Regions from separate parts of the Homo sapiens genome. Here region 2 is linked to region 1. The links are contacts of gene promoters, found by promoter capture Hi-C in blood cells and fetal thymus (Javierre and others, 2016). All regions are on one chromosome and are shown on one strand. Each heading gives the region's core, a stretch centred on a gene start or on the middle of the fragment in contact. The rest is flanking DNA. Distances are from core to core; before and after follow the strand shown. Region 1 holds the start of CD1A (CD1a molecule). Region 2 holds the start of CD1E (CD1e molecule).

The links. Contacts are between HindIII fragments. The CHiCAGO score rates a contact against its expected background, and 5 or more counts as called.
Region 2: a contact is called between the fragment with the promoter of CD1E here and the fragment with the promoter of CD1A in region 1, in 1 of 17 cell types (fetal thymus). The highest score is 5.0, in fetal thymus.

What each region holds. Positions count from the first base shown.
Region 1 is chr1:158,250,944-158,258,830 of GRCh38, forward strand. It overlaps CD1A (CD1a molecule), which reads left to right and starts at 3,481. Exons shown (of 6, transcript NM_001763.3): 1 at 3,481-3,784; 2 at 4,141-4,407; 3 at 5,061-5,339; 4 at 5,843-6,121; 5 at 6,478-6,568; 6 at 6,738-7,326. The coding sequence starts at 3,727. The coding sequence ends at 6,747. The HindIII fragment of the contact is 5,152 bases long and covers 1-5,119 here.
Region 2 is chr1:158,348,986-158,356,872 of GRCh38, forward strand. It overlaps CD1E (CD1e molecule), which reads left to right and starts at 4,909. Exons shown (of 6, transcript NM_030893.4): 1 at 4,909-5,061; 2 at 5,392-5,688; 3 at 6,315-6,584; 4 at 6,842-7,120; 5 at 7,513-7,606; 6 at 7,743-7,887. The coding sequence starts at 5,004. The HindIII fragment of the contact is 6,143 bases long and covers 1-5,659 here.

The DNA of each region.
Region 1 (7,887 bases), core at 2,231-4,730:
AACATGGGGGTTAGGAGTGATGACGGCCCCGTGCAGTCAAAAATCCATGTATAACTTTTGACTTTTCCAAATCTTAACTATGAATAGCCTACTATTGGCTGGAAGCCTTACTGCTAACATAAACAGTTGATGAACATATATTTTGTATGTTATATGTATTATATATGATATTCTTAAAGTAAGCAAGAGAAAAGAAAATATTTTAAAGAAAATCAGAAGGGAGAGAAAATATATCTGCTATTTATTAAGTGGATCATCACATGTTCGTCTTCATTGTCTTCATGTACAGTAGGCAGAAGAGGAGGAGGAAGAGGAGTTGCCTTGTCTTAGTGGTGGCAGAGTCAGAAGAAAATCCACGTGTGAGTAAATGCACACAGTTGAAACCCATGTTATTCAAGAGTGAACTGCAGTGTGAGGGTTTGAGTCAATCTAGTCTGGAGCTAACTGGGTTTGCTGTTTTGCTGTTGCTGCAATAGTCTTCAAGTTCCTCTACATTGCTCTGTTCCTAGGGTGGGGCTGGTTTGCCAGAAGGTTTTGTTAATGTCTCCACTCTCAGGTTTTGGTGTTTCCTTTGTGAAATATCTCTAGAGGACCTACCTCCATGCTTTCCATTCTTCTAGCTGCAGACTCGTCTTGTAATTGATATTTATGATACTGCTTGGGAGAAGGAGTAAGAGCACTGTCTTTTGTTCTGGTGCAGTCTCATTCTTAGGCAGGTCAGTTGTTTTTGAATTTTTTGAAGTTTTGTCATGTAAGTGTTCCTGCCTTTCTTCCAGCAGTTTGGGACCTCTAATAGTCTGGAACCAGGATGTTTTCTCGTTCTTTCCCATTGTTTTTCTTCTCCTCAGCTGCAGTGGGTTTTCACATATGCCCTGAGGGCAGCAGGGCTTTCTGCCCTTTCCCCACCAGGTTAGGGCTTTTTTTTTTCTTTTAGATGGAATATTGCTCTGTCACCCAGGCTGGAGTGCAGTGGCGCGATCTCGGCTCACTGCAACCTCCGCCTCCCGGGTTCAAGTAGCTGAGACTACAGGTGTGCACCACCACAACTGGCTAATTTTTGTATTATTACTACAGATGGGGTTGCACCATGTTGGCCAGGTTGGTCTCGAACTCCTGACCTTGTGATCCGCCCACGTTGGCCTCCCAAAGTGCTGAGATTACAGGTGTGAGCCACCGCACCCGGCCACGGTTTTTTTTTTTTTCTATGTTGCAATAGAGGAGATGGGTCTGGTTGGGACTTACTACCCTTCCCATGCAGTAGCTGTTCTCATACCTCAGGCCCGCATCATGAGAGAGGATTTATCTGGTCTACATCTCTGACCCTAATGTTTCAGAAGACCCTGGTGAGGTTCATAGAAAAAGGCTTAGAGACTGATGCGAATTTCCCTGTTTTTGTGACTCCCAGGGCTTCTATATACTCATGCTAGCCTTTACTAATTTGTCTAAAATTTTAGCTGAATTCTTATTCTTACTGGCTTGTATAATATCTGGCATCTGTCCCAAGTAAACAAGGGTTTGCATTCCATCTGTCCTTTGAGGAGTCTGTCTTTCTTTATATTTTGGGTTAACTGGTTGCCTTGATATTTCAGTTCTTTGATAAATTCAAGTTATGATTTTGATAATCTGGCTTCAAAAAATTATAAGTATGAAAATGAAGCTCTTTCCAGCTTTTTGCATGCTAATCTTAACTTTAAAAAAATTATCTGTAATCCCAGCACTTTGGGAGGCTGAGGCAGGTGGATCATCTGAGGTCAGGAGTTTGAGACCAACATGGTGAAACCCCATCTCTATTAATAATATCAAAGTTAGCCAGGCATGGTGGTGCATACCTGTAATCCCAGTTACTTGCAAAACCGAGGCAGGACAATTGCTTTAACCTGGGAGGCAGAGGTTGCAGTGAGCTGAGATCATGCCACTGAACTCCAGCCTGGGTGACAGAGTGAGACTCTGTCTCAAAACAAAACAAAACAAAACAAAACAAAAAACAAATAAAAAAATTATTTGCAGGCCATGCCTGGTGGCTCATGCCAACAATCCCAGCACTTTGGGAGGCTGACACAGGAGGATTGCTTGAGGCCGGGAGTTGGAGGTTACAGTGAGCTATGATTATTCCACTGCACTCCAGCCTGAGTAACAGAGTGAAACCCTGTCTCAAGAAAAAAAATTTTTTCCCCCTAAATTAGCTTCAGATACTTTTTTTTTGAAAACCAAAAAATAGTAAATAGCCCAGACACATTTATATGGATGATATCTACAAAGCACAAACATATATTTAGAAGCCCTTCAACAGTTACAAGCAGCGTAAAAGAGGAATGTAAATGTGTCCGGCAAAGACTCATTTATAACAAAACAACCCTGAAACATCCAAATAGGACTAATAAAAAGGGATCCTGGGATAAAGACTTTGGAATACTCCATTAACTTCACTGCTCACAAGTTCTGACTAGTTTCTTATAAGTAATAGGACATTTATAGCAGGATCTTTTATGTAAATCTCATGCCAGTAACTTGTACTTTTATCCTAAATAAAACTGTATGAGATTCTCATCTCACTACATAGGGTTACAAGTAACTTTTATGATATCTTTAAAAAGTTTCATGTTGAATATCACCTCCATAATTAAAAAATGGATGCATAGACTGAATTCATTCATTCATTTGACAAATATTCACTAAGCACCTACCACTTGTGAGATACTCTGTTAGGTGGGGATACAGTATGATAACTGTATGGAACTAACACTCCAAGTCAAACATTGAAGTCAAAATTCTGGGCTGGCGTACATTAGTTAGGAGCCCCCATTTTAGAAAATATTATTTCAAGCAGGCCTTGTTTTTATCCAGAGAGTGTATACAGTATAATAAAACTCAGTACACCAAGATTTATATTTCATGGCGTGTTTTTCTCCCTAAGTAGAGAAAAAGCTCCTTCAGTAAAGTGATTGTGTTGTCAACCACTGCATATTCTTAAGTGTACCAAGATGCTTGACTCCAGGCAGGTGCTAAGAGAGACTGTTGGGTGAGTGAATGTATATCAATGAAAATCAAACAGAGGAAATTTTCTTTATATGTTTTAGTGTTCCTGTGGTTTTTTTTTTTTTTTTTTTTTTTTTTTTTTTTTTTTTTTTTGTGATGGTTACTGGCTCTTCTCTAAGAATAATGGAGAAAAGGTGTTAGTTTGTACTGTCGCACAGGGCAGTCGTAGGAGACTCTGAAAAAGCAAATAAATCAATGTTAAATCAGAAATGTGAATGTAGTAAGGGGCTGAAGAGACAGGGGAAGAGAATACATGGGAAAATATTGAAAAGGACAGAGTGATCAAAAAGAGCAGGGACATGGGAGCATTGGGCAGCACACTGGGAGCCATTTCACTTTATGCTCTTATTGTATGATTGAGAAAAAAATGTCCTTAGTGGTTAAGTGGCTTTTCAATGCCACATCAGACTTGTTCCATAGCAGTTGAATTAGGGGAAGGTGAATAAGTTGGAGGTTGGTGACAAGGAGAGAAGCTGGAACAGAGAGGAGAGTCAGAACCAGAGGGAAATGAGAGACTGAGTAGGCATCTCAGGGTTTTTGAAGGAGTGGATTTTCTTTGTTGCAGTCAGGGGAGGTTTGTCTGTTGGCTGCAGAAAGAAGTCAGAATAGAGATATCGTGGGGTAGGTTTGTTTGGAACAGAAATCAAAGACCAATTTTTCTGAGAGAAGGAAATAACATCTGCAAATGATATGCTGTTTTTGCTACTTCCATTGTTAGCTGTTCTCCCAGGTGATGGCAATGCAGACGGTAAGAACTCTGACAACTGCCCAGTTGGGTGGTGGGTGAAGGTCTCTCTCTCTCTCTCTGTGTGTGTGTGTGTGTGTGTGTGTGTGTGTGTGTGTGTGTGTGTGTGGTTTCCCTAGCATATACCTGGAAAGTGAGAGTGCCAGGCTGGTTCCATTCTGACTATCCATGACTCCAGGTCCCTGAGCTCTTATGAAGGTGGTTGATAAGGCATGGGACTGTGTGGCAAGTGAATGTCTGCTAAGATCATGATGGATCCCCTTTTCTCCAGATTCTGAGTTCCCGCACTCTGGCACCTTTCTCTCTCCATCCTCTTTCTCAATGTCTTTCTCCCCATTCTATCTGTTCTTTTGTCGCAGGGCTCAAGGAGCCTCTCTCCTTCCATGTCACCTGGATCGCATCCTTTTACAACCATTCCTGGAAACAAAATCTGGTCTCAGGTTGGCTGAGTGATTTGCAGACTCATACCTGGGACAGCAATTCCAGCACCATCGTTTTCCTGTGCCCCTGGTCCAGGGGAAACTTCAGCAATGAGGAGTGGAAGGAACTGGAAACATTATTCCGTATACGCACCATTCGGTCATTTGAGGGAATTCGTAGATACGCCCATGAATTGCAGTTTGAATGTGAGTTCAGTTTTCTCCATGGAGAGTGGTGAGGTGGGAGAGAGGGGTTGTCTCAATGTTTCTTATTCCTTTAGGAAACAGCCTGACTCTCTTCTGTATCTTATTCTATTCTTTCCACCATAAAACTGCAATTGCATACTTTTGGGCAAGGGCTATCATCCAGACCTTAATTCTCCAAACACTTCTGCTACTTATGAACTCCTCTCTCATTGATTGCAGGGTTGTGCATTATTATCTTTTCTTACAGGTATCCCAGGACCACCCTTCTGCCTGCCCTACAACCAGATACCTTCAGCTTTCTCACTTTCTCATTCATTCTCTTCAGCAGTCTCTCTATATATACTCAATTGTAACCCATTGCATTTAATTCAACCTAAGTTGTTATAATCCCAGTTCTCTTACACCAGGTCCTTGCTCACCCACAGCATTCACATCACCTTCTTTGACCAGTTTGCCCTCTTCCTCATGTTATTAATCTTTTCCTCCACCTACAGCTCCCACCAATTCCTCTTTCTCTGAATCCCTGACCAAACCAAATTTTATTCCATTATGTCAAACCCTGCACACTTCCCCCTTCTGCTTCTATAATCTTTGCTTCTACTCATTTCATTTTATATTTTTTTCTCCCTCTTTCCTCTATTTCATAACCCCAGATCCTTTTGAGATACAGGTGACAGGAGGCTGTGAGCTGCACTCTGGAAAGGTCTCAGGAAGCTTCTTGCAGTTAGCTTATCAAGGATCAGACTTTGTGAGCTTCCAGAACAATTCATGGTTGCCATATCCAGTGGCTGGGAATATGGCCAAGCATTTCTGCAAAGTGCTCAATCAGAATCAGCATGAAAATGACATAACACACAATCTTCTCAGTGACACCTGCCCACGTTTCATCTTGGGTCTTCTTGATGCAGGAAAGGCACATCTCCAGCGGCAAGGTCAGTCCTGCACTCTCCCTCCAAGAAGTTTTGATTTGAAAATCATACCCTTCCACCACCTCCTTCCAATTTAGAATAAGGAAGAGCCACCCAGAAGTGGGAAAGGCTGGGTGCAGTGCCTCACATCTGTAATCCCAGTACTTTGGGAAGCTGAGGCTGGAGGACTTCTTAAGGGCAGGAGTCCCAGACCAGCCTGAGCAACAGAGTGAGACCAGTGTCTCTAAAAAATAAAAATAAGTTAGCCAGTCATGGTGGTACACACCTGTAGTCCCAGTTACTTAAGAGGCTGAGGCAGGAGGATCGCTTGAGCCTAACAGTTTGAGGTTACAGTGAGCTATAATTTATAATTATGCCACTGCATTGCAGCATAGTGACAGAGTGAGACCCTGTCTCAAAAAAAAAAAAAAGAGAAATGGGAACAATGTGTCTATCTAAACTTCTAAACTGTTGTGGAGATATGAAACTCCAAGTCTGTATTTGAATATCTTTTCTGTCCTTTGCAGTGAAGCCCGAGGCCTGGCTGTCCCATGGCCCCAGTCCTGGCCCTGGCCATCTGCAGCTTGTGTGCCATGTCTCAGGATTCTACCCAAAGCCCGTGTGGGTGATGTGGATGCGGGGTGAGCAGGAGCAGCAGGGCACTCAGCGAGGGGACATCTTGCCCAGTGCTGATGGGACATGGTATCTCCGCGCAACCCTGGAGGTGGCCGCTGGGGAGGCAGCTGACCTGTCCTGTCGGGTGAAGCACAGCAGTCTAGAGGGCCAGGACATCGTCCTCTACTGGGGTGAGAAAAAGCTAAGGCCCAGGCTGGAAATGCCAGGAAGTGGACCTCAGGCATAGAGGGAGGGCAAGCTGAAAATTTTAGGATTTTAGGGATTATAGCCCAAACATGAATAAAAATAGATAATCTAAGAAATGGAAATGTTGAAAATGAGGGCCCTGTAGATGCAGGAGGATGCTGAGGGTTAACTGAAGAATCCATCTCTGAGCAGGGATGAGAGAAAAACATAGAAAAAAAGGAGATTGGTAAGTTGGATACTCAAATGAAAAAAAGAAGCCCAGGGAATGCAGTGAAATAGGGAGTGGATGAGGTAAAATGGGATGGATTATAACATCCTTGGTGTCTCCCCAAATTCACAGAGCATCACAGTTCCGTGGGCTTCATCATCTTGGCGGTGATAGTGCCTTTACTTCTTCTGATAGGTCTTGCGCTTTGGTTCAGGAAACGCTGGTGAGTTCTTTGCATGTGTCTTTCCTACTCTTAGCCTCTACCCCACTTTTCTTCCCATGTTTTTTGTTTTTCTCTCCTCAGTTCTTCTCTCCCCAGTCCCCTTCCCTCTTGCTCCTCAATTCTCAGCTCCACCTTATTCAGAGTGACTTCTATCTCTGTTCTCATCCAGTTTCTGTTAAGACACACCATGAGCCTCCTCGTCACCCTTCTCCTTTTGGGGTGAGAGACCAGCAGCCCAAGGGCTCCAGACACACCTGAACACATCGTGATGATGACGTCCTCTCAACTCTCTTTGTAAAAATTTTGTTATTTTTGCTTGTTTCTGATTAATGATTGTTTGTCAATATAAGCTCAATTTAATTTTGCAGGATTTGTTGTTCTGACCTGGGTTCTGGGACTTTTAAATTCAAATTTTATCTCCAGATGGAATGGGGTCCTAGCAACCTCCACATGTTCAACTATTAATGGATCATCAGGCCTGTTTTAGATATCCCTTACTCCAGAGGGCCTTCCCTGACTTACAAGTGGGAAGCAGTCTCTTCCTGGTCTGAACTCCCGCCACATTTTAGCCGTACTTTGCTAACTGTGCTCCTCACTTCCTCTTCTTCATTGCAGTTATTTAGATCCCCCCTTTCCTTCTAATTTTTCAGCTCCTTCAATGCAAAGTACATGTATTTTTAATATATGCATCCCTGGTGAAGGATCTTGCCTGCATGAAACATGTTCTCAATAAAACTCTGTGTTGAATTTATGCCAAATTTGTAGTGTTTTCTTATTCTTTTCCTTCCTGGTGCTTTTGAAGTAGTTGAGACATTTGATACTCTTCTGCTTAAAAGTCTTCTCACTTGGAGGAAATTTTACACATTCCTAGTTCTATAGTTTGTTCTCTGAGCTCCAGAGGAGAAACACAATTTTGCCTCTTACTACTCCTATCATTCAACTATAGAGAGCTCTTCGAGTTAAATTATTGTTCCAGGTATGCAAGGCAGGATGTATATCTTTACTATTCAGTGGTTCAGGGAAAAGCAGCAGAGTTCTCACATTGGAGCTTGTTAGAAAGGTAGAATGTGGGCCTCACCTTAGGTTTACTGAATTATAATTTGTGTTTTGGAAAATCAGCAGGATACTCACATGTCCATTAAAATTTGTGAGGCACTGATGCTGGTGATGCCTGAGATGTAGTACAAGTGTGTCACTGAATTGAAAATGATCAAAAAAGGGAACAAGAGTGTTACTCCTGAAGATTGAAGTGAGATCAAGGCAAGTAATGTACCTACTGCACCTTCTCATTATTCATGGCAGTTATGTTGTGTGCAGTT
Region 2 (7,887 bases), core at 3,659-6,158, 99 kb after region 1:
CCCGCACTCCTCAGCCCTTGGGTGGTTGATGGGACTGGGCGCCGTGGAGCAGGGGGCTGCGCTCATCGGGGAGGCTCCGGCCGCACAGGAGCCCATGGAGGGGGTGGGAGTCTCAGGCATGGCGGGCTGCAGGTCCCGAGCCCTGCCCCACGGGGAGGCAGCTAAGGCCTGGTGAGAAATCAAGCACAGCGCTGGTGGGCTGGCACTGCTGGGGGATCCAGTACACCCTCCGCAGCCGCTGGCCCGGGTGCTAAGTCTCTCATTGCTCGGGGCCGGCAGGGCCGGCTGGCTGCTCCGAGTGCAGGCCCGCCAAGCCCACGCCCACCCTGCACTCCAGCTGGAACCGCCCGCAGCCCAGGTTCCCGCTCGCGCCTCTCCCTCCACACCTCCCTGCAAGCTGAGGGAGCCGGCTCCGGCCTTGGCCAGCCCAGAAAGGGGCTCCTACAGTGCAGCGGCGGGCTGAAAGGCTTCTCAAGTGCTGCCAAAGTGGGAGCCCAGGCAGAGGAGGCACCGAGAGCAAGCAAGGTCTGTGAGGACTGCCAGCACGCTGTCACCTCTCAATGCCACTGCACTCCAGCCTGGGTGACAGAGTGAGAATCCGTCTCAAAAAGAAAAAAAAAAGAAAAAATGTAACTATGTGAAGTGATGGATATGGTAATAACTTGACTGTGGCGATTACTTCACAGTATATACATATATCATAACATCATGTTGTGCACCTTAAGTATACCCAATTTAAAAAAAATTAAGGTAGAATATAAATATATAATTTATCATCTTCACCATTTTAAAATGTACAGCTCAGTGGCAATAAATACTTTTTTATACTCAATTTTTATTTGTTGGTTGTACCTCACTAAAGCTGAAAAATATATTTGAATAAATGTTAAAGAAATGTAAGTATACACAAACAAGAAAATAAGTATGTAGAAATTGCAATCTTTCCTGAAAATAAGCCAAAAGAATAAAACTCGTATTTAAATTCTTTGAAAAAAAATTAGCAGATGGAACATTTTCTTACATTTGTACAAATGTACTCAAAAATTTTATTTTAAATCAATTTTAATGAGTTATCTCCCATAAATTTCTTACATAGAAAGATTAAGTTGTCCAAAGGCACATCTTATAATATGTTTTGAGAGAATTTTCTGGTTTTGGCAAAAGGGGATCTGCGAATGTGACTGGGGCAGCCTCAGGAAAACATAAGAGGGGGAATTTCTTTTTAAAAGAGACCTCTGGCCACAGACACTAAGTATTTTTAGTAAAAAATGTGGTTAGGCACTGATGGAATATTTTTTTTTTTTTTTTTTTTGAGACGGAGTCTTTCTCTGTTGCCCAGGCTGGAGTGCAGTGGCACAATCTTGGCTCACTGCAACCTCTGCCTCCCAGGTTCAAGCGATTCTCTTGCCTCAGCTTCTCGAATAGCTGGGACCATAGGCACGTGCCACCACGCCCTGCTAATTTTTTTGTATTTTTAGTAGAGAGGGGTTTCACCGTGTTAGCCAGGATGGTCTCGATCTCCTGACCTCCTGATCTGCCTGCCTCGGCCTCCCAAAGTGCTGGGATTACAGGAGTGAGCCACTGTGCCTGGCCCACTGATGGAATTTTGTAAAGCAGGAAGGAAATAATTGTACCATATAATGTTACAAAAATTAAAATTAATATATATTTTTTCTTTGGAATTTATCTTCTGGATAATTTTAATTTAGAAGGAATTTCATTATTTTGTTAATGATTATGGGGTTGCTGTCAGACATTATTTCTACTTTGCTCAGTAATTTGCAGTTATCTGTGAGTTCTGTAGCCTCAAAATTAAAAACTAGGGTGTGGTTATCTTTACTTACATAAAAGTGCAATTTTTTGTGGAATAACAACATTGTTTTATTCTCTAAATATACTTTGCTTTATTTTACTTTGCAAATGATTTTAAAATTCTCCCTCTTTTTTTTTTTTTTGAAACAGAGTCACACTCTCCTGCCCAGGATGTAGTACAGTGGCACAATCTCAGTTCCCTGCAATCTCCACCTCCTAGGCTCAAGCAATTCTCCTGCCTCAGCCTCCTGAGTAGCTGGAATTACAGGCACACATCATGGCACCTGGCTAATTTTTACTTTTTTTGGTAGAGACAGGGTTTCGCCATGTTGGCAAGGCTGGTCTCGAATTCGCCTGCCTTGGCTTCCCAAAGTGCTGGGATTACGGGTGTGAGCCACCGTGCCTGGCCTGATTCAAAAATTCTAATGGCCGGGGCACGGTTGCTCACGCCTGTAATCTCAGCACTTTGGGAGGCCGAGGCGGGTGGATCACGAGGTCAGGAGATCGAGACCGTCTTGGTCAACATGAAGAAACCCTGTCTCTACTAAAAATACAAAAAATAGATGGTCATGGTGGCTCTTGCCTGTAATCCCAGCTGCTCAGGAGGCTGAGGCAGGAGAGTCGTTTGAACCAGGGATTCGGGGGTTGCAATGAGCCGAGATCCTGTGGCTGCACTGCAGCCTGGGCAACAGAGCAAGACAGCAAGACTCCGTCTCAGGAAAAAACAAAACAAAACAAAAATTCTAAGGAATACAGTTACTTGTAGTATTGATGTTTGGCATAGGTCATTCCAATCTTTTTATTATGTATTATTGTTTTTGTAGGTTATTATATATTCTCTTGAATATTTATCTTTGTTTACTGTTCATAATTTTATTATGAAACCAATTTTGGATTTACATAGCGATTTATAGATAGATTTACATAGCAACTTATAGCTTTGAATGTATTTGTAGAAAAGAAAGAGTATTGAAAATAAATGTAGACATTCTACTCAGGAAACAAGGAAACTTTTTTTAATCTTTCTTTAACCTTAGAATTTAGAAATGATAATAAGATGAAACTAGGTTTGGACCTTTTTCTTTTGTTTTTTTGTTTGCAGTTTTTTTTTCTTTTTTTAATTATTTTTATTTATTTATTTATTTTTTATTATTATACTTTAAGTTCTAGGGTACATGTGCACAACGTGAAGGTTTGTTACATATGTATACATGTGTCGTGTTGGTGTGCTGCACCCATTAACTCGTCATTTACATTAGGTATATCTCTTAATGCTATCCCTCCCCCCTCCCCCCACCCCACAACAGGCCCCGGTGTGTGATGTTCCTCTTCCTGTGTCCATGTGTTCTCATTGTTCAATTCCCACCTATGAGTGAGAACATGCGGTGTTTGGTTTTTTGTCCTTGTGATAGTTTGCTGAGAATGATGGTTTCCAGCTTCATCCATGTCCCTACAAAGGACATGAACTCATCATTTTTTATGGCTGCATAGTATTTCATGGTGTATATGTGCCACATTTTCTTAATCCAGTCTATCATTGTTGGACATTTGGGTTGGTTCCAAGTCTTTGTTATTGTGAATAGTGCCACAATAAACATACGTGTGCATGTGTCTTTATAGCAACATGATTTATAATCCTTTGTGTATATACCCAGTAATGGGATGGCTGGGTCAAATGGTATTTCTAGTTCTAGATCCCTGAGGAATCGCCACCCTGACTTCCACAATGGTTGAACTAGTTTACAGTCCCACCAACAGTGTAAAAGTGTTCCTATTTCTCCACATCCTCTCCAGCACCTCTCCAGCACAGAAAGAGTATTGAAAATAAATGTAGATATTCTACTCAGGAAACAAGGAAACTTTTTATCTTTCTTTTAACTTAGAATTTAGAAATGATAATAAGATGAAACTAGGTTTGGACCTTTTTCAATAATTCTGACCACCGTTCAGTAAATTTACTGTATAAGAAAAGTAGAGGTTTGGGGTTGAATTTTGTTTTATTTTTTCCCAAAGATGTCTATCTCTGATATCTTAGGGCCTGGCAATTGTTTTTGGTCATAGGTGGGCTCTGAATAAATGTCAGTTGAACAAATATATAAAAACCAAACAAAGGAATGTTATTTCAACTGCCTTCAGAGTGTCACAACAAATATCAATGAAAAAGAAACAAAAATAAAGACTCAATTAATTCTCCAGTGAACACTTCAGTCCTCTAAAGGTACTTCCCTGTGTCCACCCAAACTGCTCTCTAACCGAACGCAAGCAAGGGGACTCCAATGCTCTCAGGCCATGAACTAATGAGGAGCTTCATGCCTGCCCTCAGTCTTTCTTCATACCCAGGGCAAAGCTGGCCCACAGACTTCCAGACATGCTTTCTTCGTTTGGGTAGAGATGGGGATCCAAGTCCCCTATGTATTTCCTCCAGAGCCACCTGTAAAACATGGGTGAAATCTACCTGCCCTCTAGCTCACCACTTCCAGGTCAAGCCCACTCATGGACCACTTTAACAGTGACAGTTGGCTTGACTGGGGAAACTGAAAAAAAGGAGCTTTCTTTAGATTTTCTGATAATCTGCATTGCCATTGCTGCTCCTTTTTCAGCAGCACAGAGAGTTGGATTATGGAGGGTTGCCTGCTTATTATGCAGCTACATCCAGGATGCTGAGTGTCTTCTGATCATGATCAAGAGCAGAGTGAAGAGATACAGGCGGAGGAGAGGATCACAGAGAGGTAGAAGTGGGAGACTGGTGGATAGGTCACTAGGCACCACTGAGTGACTACCATCACTTCTCACAGATTAGATTATTGACAAGCCAAGTATGGATTTGATTTCTACAAGGCCAAAAGCTACTCCATCTTCTAGCCAGACCACAGACTTTGTTTTAAGCCAGGACTCGTTTTCCAGCAGTTAGTGCAATTAGGGAGGTTGGGAGGATGTACACAAGAGCAGGGAGAAAATCTGGAGCCAGACAGTGAGAGAGGCAGAGGGGAAATGAAAAACCCCGTGGGAGGCTGCAGCAAAGCGAGGCAGTGTGGCTTCTCTGACAGGGAAGTCAGCAGAGGGAGAGGTTTGTCTGTCTGTACAGCAAGGGAAGTCAGACGAGAGTGCAAGAGGGTGTGGAGAGGGGTACTGATATCTGAATTATTAGGGCAGGTGTCCTGCCAAGGAATCCCTCCTTTAACAGAGCTTCAATGCTGCTCCTGTTCCTCCTCTTCGAGGGTCTCTGCTGTCCTGGGGAAAATACAGCAGGTAAGAAGAGTGCAGGTGGAAAGATACCTATGGTAGGGCACCAGAGGGCTGAGAGGAAGCTCTGGGGAGGTCCTGGGGGAAGGGAGCAGTACTCTTCTAGGATGCCCTTGGAATATGCCTTTCAGGCTAGTTCCAGGCAGAGAATTCTTGCTCTCAGTCTCAGTTTTTGTCTCTGATTTTGGAGAAAGGAAGCTGGCCCCACAGGAAAAGGGTATTGGAGTATGTACAAGCTACCTAACTGTCTCTCATCTCTGGGTTCCTTTTTTCCCTTTGGCATCACTTTTCCCATCCCTTTACATTCTCTCTACTTGTCATTTCCCTCTCTCTCAGCTCCCCAGGCTCTACAATCCTATCATCTAGCAGCAGAGGAGCAGCTGTCCTTCCGCATGCTCCAAACTTCCTCCTTTGCCAACCACAGCTGGGCACACAGTGAGGGCTCAGGATGGCTGGGTGACCTGCAGACTCATGGCTGGGACACTGTCTTGGGCACCATCCGCTTTCTGAAGCCCTGGTCCCATGGAAACTTCAGCAAGCAGGAGCTGAAAAACTTACAGTCACTGTTCCAGTTATACTTCCATAGTTTTATCCAGATAGTGCAAGCTTCTGCTGGTCAATTTCAGCTTGAATGTAAGTTCGTTGCTCTAAGCTGATAATTTGCCTGGGAACACCAACTATTTTCCAAAGTGGAAGATAGTATATAGACTCTGACCATCATTTAACCTTACTAACCTTGTTCCCCACTCTCTGACTCCCACTCCCTCCTCTGCTTCACCCTTCACCACCACCCACACTCCACCATATACACAAAAGGGCCTGCATGTACATATCTCAACATGAATATAGCTTCATGTCTGGCTCTTTGGAATGATTGTCTCCTCTGGATCTTCTGCCCCTCATTCCTGCCCTCAGACTCAGCCTTTCTCAACCCTCTTTCTGCCCTTCTTTATCCTTTGCCTGAGTGTTGACATGGACTGGCCTGTACCTAACCACTTTCACGTGAATTATTTATGACCAATCTCCTATCTTCCTGATAGCCTTCCCATCTACCACTTTCCCATTAGTTATTTCAAAGTATCTTTATTATCTTCAAATTTTCTTCCCACAAATTTTCTTCCCCTTTGCCAGTAAACTCTAGTCTCCATATGATTTCCCAGCAAATTTTTCTTCCCTTGAATCTCTTTACTGTCTAAATTGTTTGTTTTTCTTCCTTGTCATTCTTTCCATAATGATCTCTCTTCCCTGTCCACTCTCAGACCCCTTCGAGATCCAGATATTAGCTGGCTGTAGAATGAATGCCCCACAAATCTTCTTAAATATGGCATATCAAGGGTCAGATTTCCTGAGTTTCCAAGGAATTTCCTGGGAGCCATCTCCAGGAGCAGGGATCCGGGCCCAGAACATCTGTAAAGTGCTCAATCGCTACCTAGATATTAAGGAAATACTGCAAAGCCTTCTTGGTCACACCTGCCCTCGATTTCTAGCGGGGCTCATGGAAGCAGGGGAGTCAGAACTGAAACGGAAAGGTGAGCCCAACTCTCTCTCTCCCCTCTTGTTCCTAGTACTATAACTCTCATATTTGAATTTGCCTCTCATCATCATTTTGAAAGACATAGTGAGAGACTAGAGAATGAGATGTGTGGGTTCAGGACTGTTTCTTAGACAAGAGAAAGAAGTGATTACTAAATCACTCTTAGTATTATTACAAAGGCACCTGAGTCTCTGAGCTCTGGCCTGGGGTGCCCTTCAAAATTCCATTTTTTTTCTATCTTCTTCTTCCTAGTGAAGCCAGAGGCCTGGCTGTCCTGTGGCCCCAGTCCTGGCCCTGGCCGTCTGCAGCTTGTGTGCCATGTCTCAGGATTCTACCCAAAGCCCGTGTGGGTGATGTGGATGCGGGGTGAGCAGGAGCAGCGGGGCACTCAGCGAGGGGACGTCCTGCCTAATGCTGACGAGACATGGTATCTCCGAGCAACCCTGGATGTGGCGGCTGGGGAGGCAGCTGGCCTGTCCTGTCGGGTGAAACACAGCAGTCTAGGGGGCCATGATCTAATCATCCATTGGGGTGAGAAACAGCTGAGGCTCTGCTGGGAAATAATGAAAATAGCCCTGGGGCTTTTGAGTGTGGGGCTGAGGAAATGGGTAGGAATGCTAGGTACAAGAAGGGTAAAACTGGGACAATCAAAATAAAGAAGGATAGAGTATGACAGTAGTTAAATTTTAAGAAAATGGAAGTAGAGAATTAGACATACTAACAGAAAAAGGAGGAGGAACTAGTGATTTAGTGGGAGAGGGTTGGGAGGAGATCACAGACAAAGGATCAGGAGGAATTGAAATGAGGGCTTTGGAAAACCCAGATGAAAATTCTAGGAAGGTCCCACCCTTGTGAAATGGGAAATCTCAGCTTGGTGGAATAGAGTATTTTAGGGTTGGTATTCTTATTCTATCCCCAACCAGGTGGATATTCCATCTTTCTCATCCTGATCTGTTTGACTGTGATAGTTACCCTGGTCATATTGGTTGTAGTTGACTCACGGTTAAAAAAACAGAGGTGAGCTTTTTCTTGTTCTTTGTTTCTTCAGCCTGTAATCAATTCATTCCTTTTTCCTCTATCTTCTTTTTTTTTTTCTCTGCCTTTCCCCTTTATTTCCTTTCTTTGAGATTAATATCCTCCTCTTTTCCCACAGTTCAAATAAGAACATTCTTTCTCCCCACACACCCAGCCCTGTCTTTCTCATGGGAGCCAACACTCAGGACACCAAGAATTCAAGACATCAGTTCTGCTTGGCACAAGTATCGTGGATCAAAAACAGAGTATTGAAGAAGTGGAAG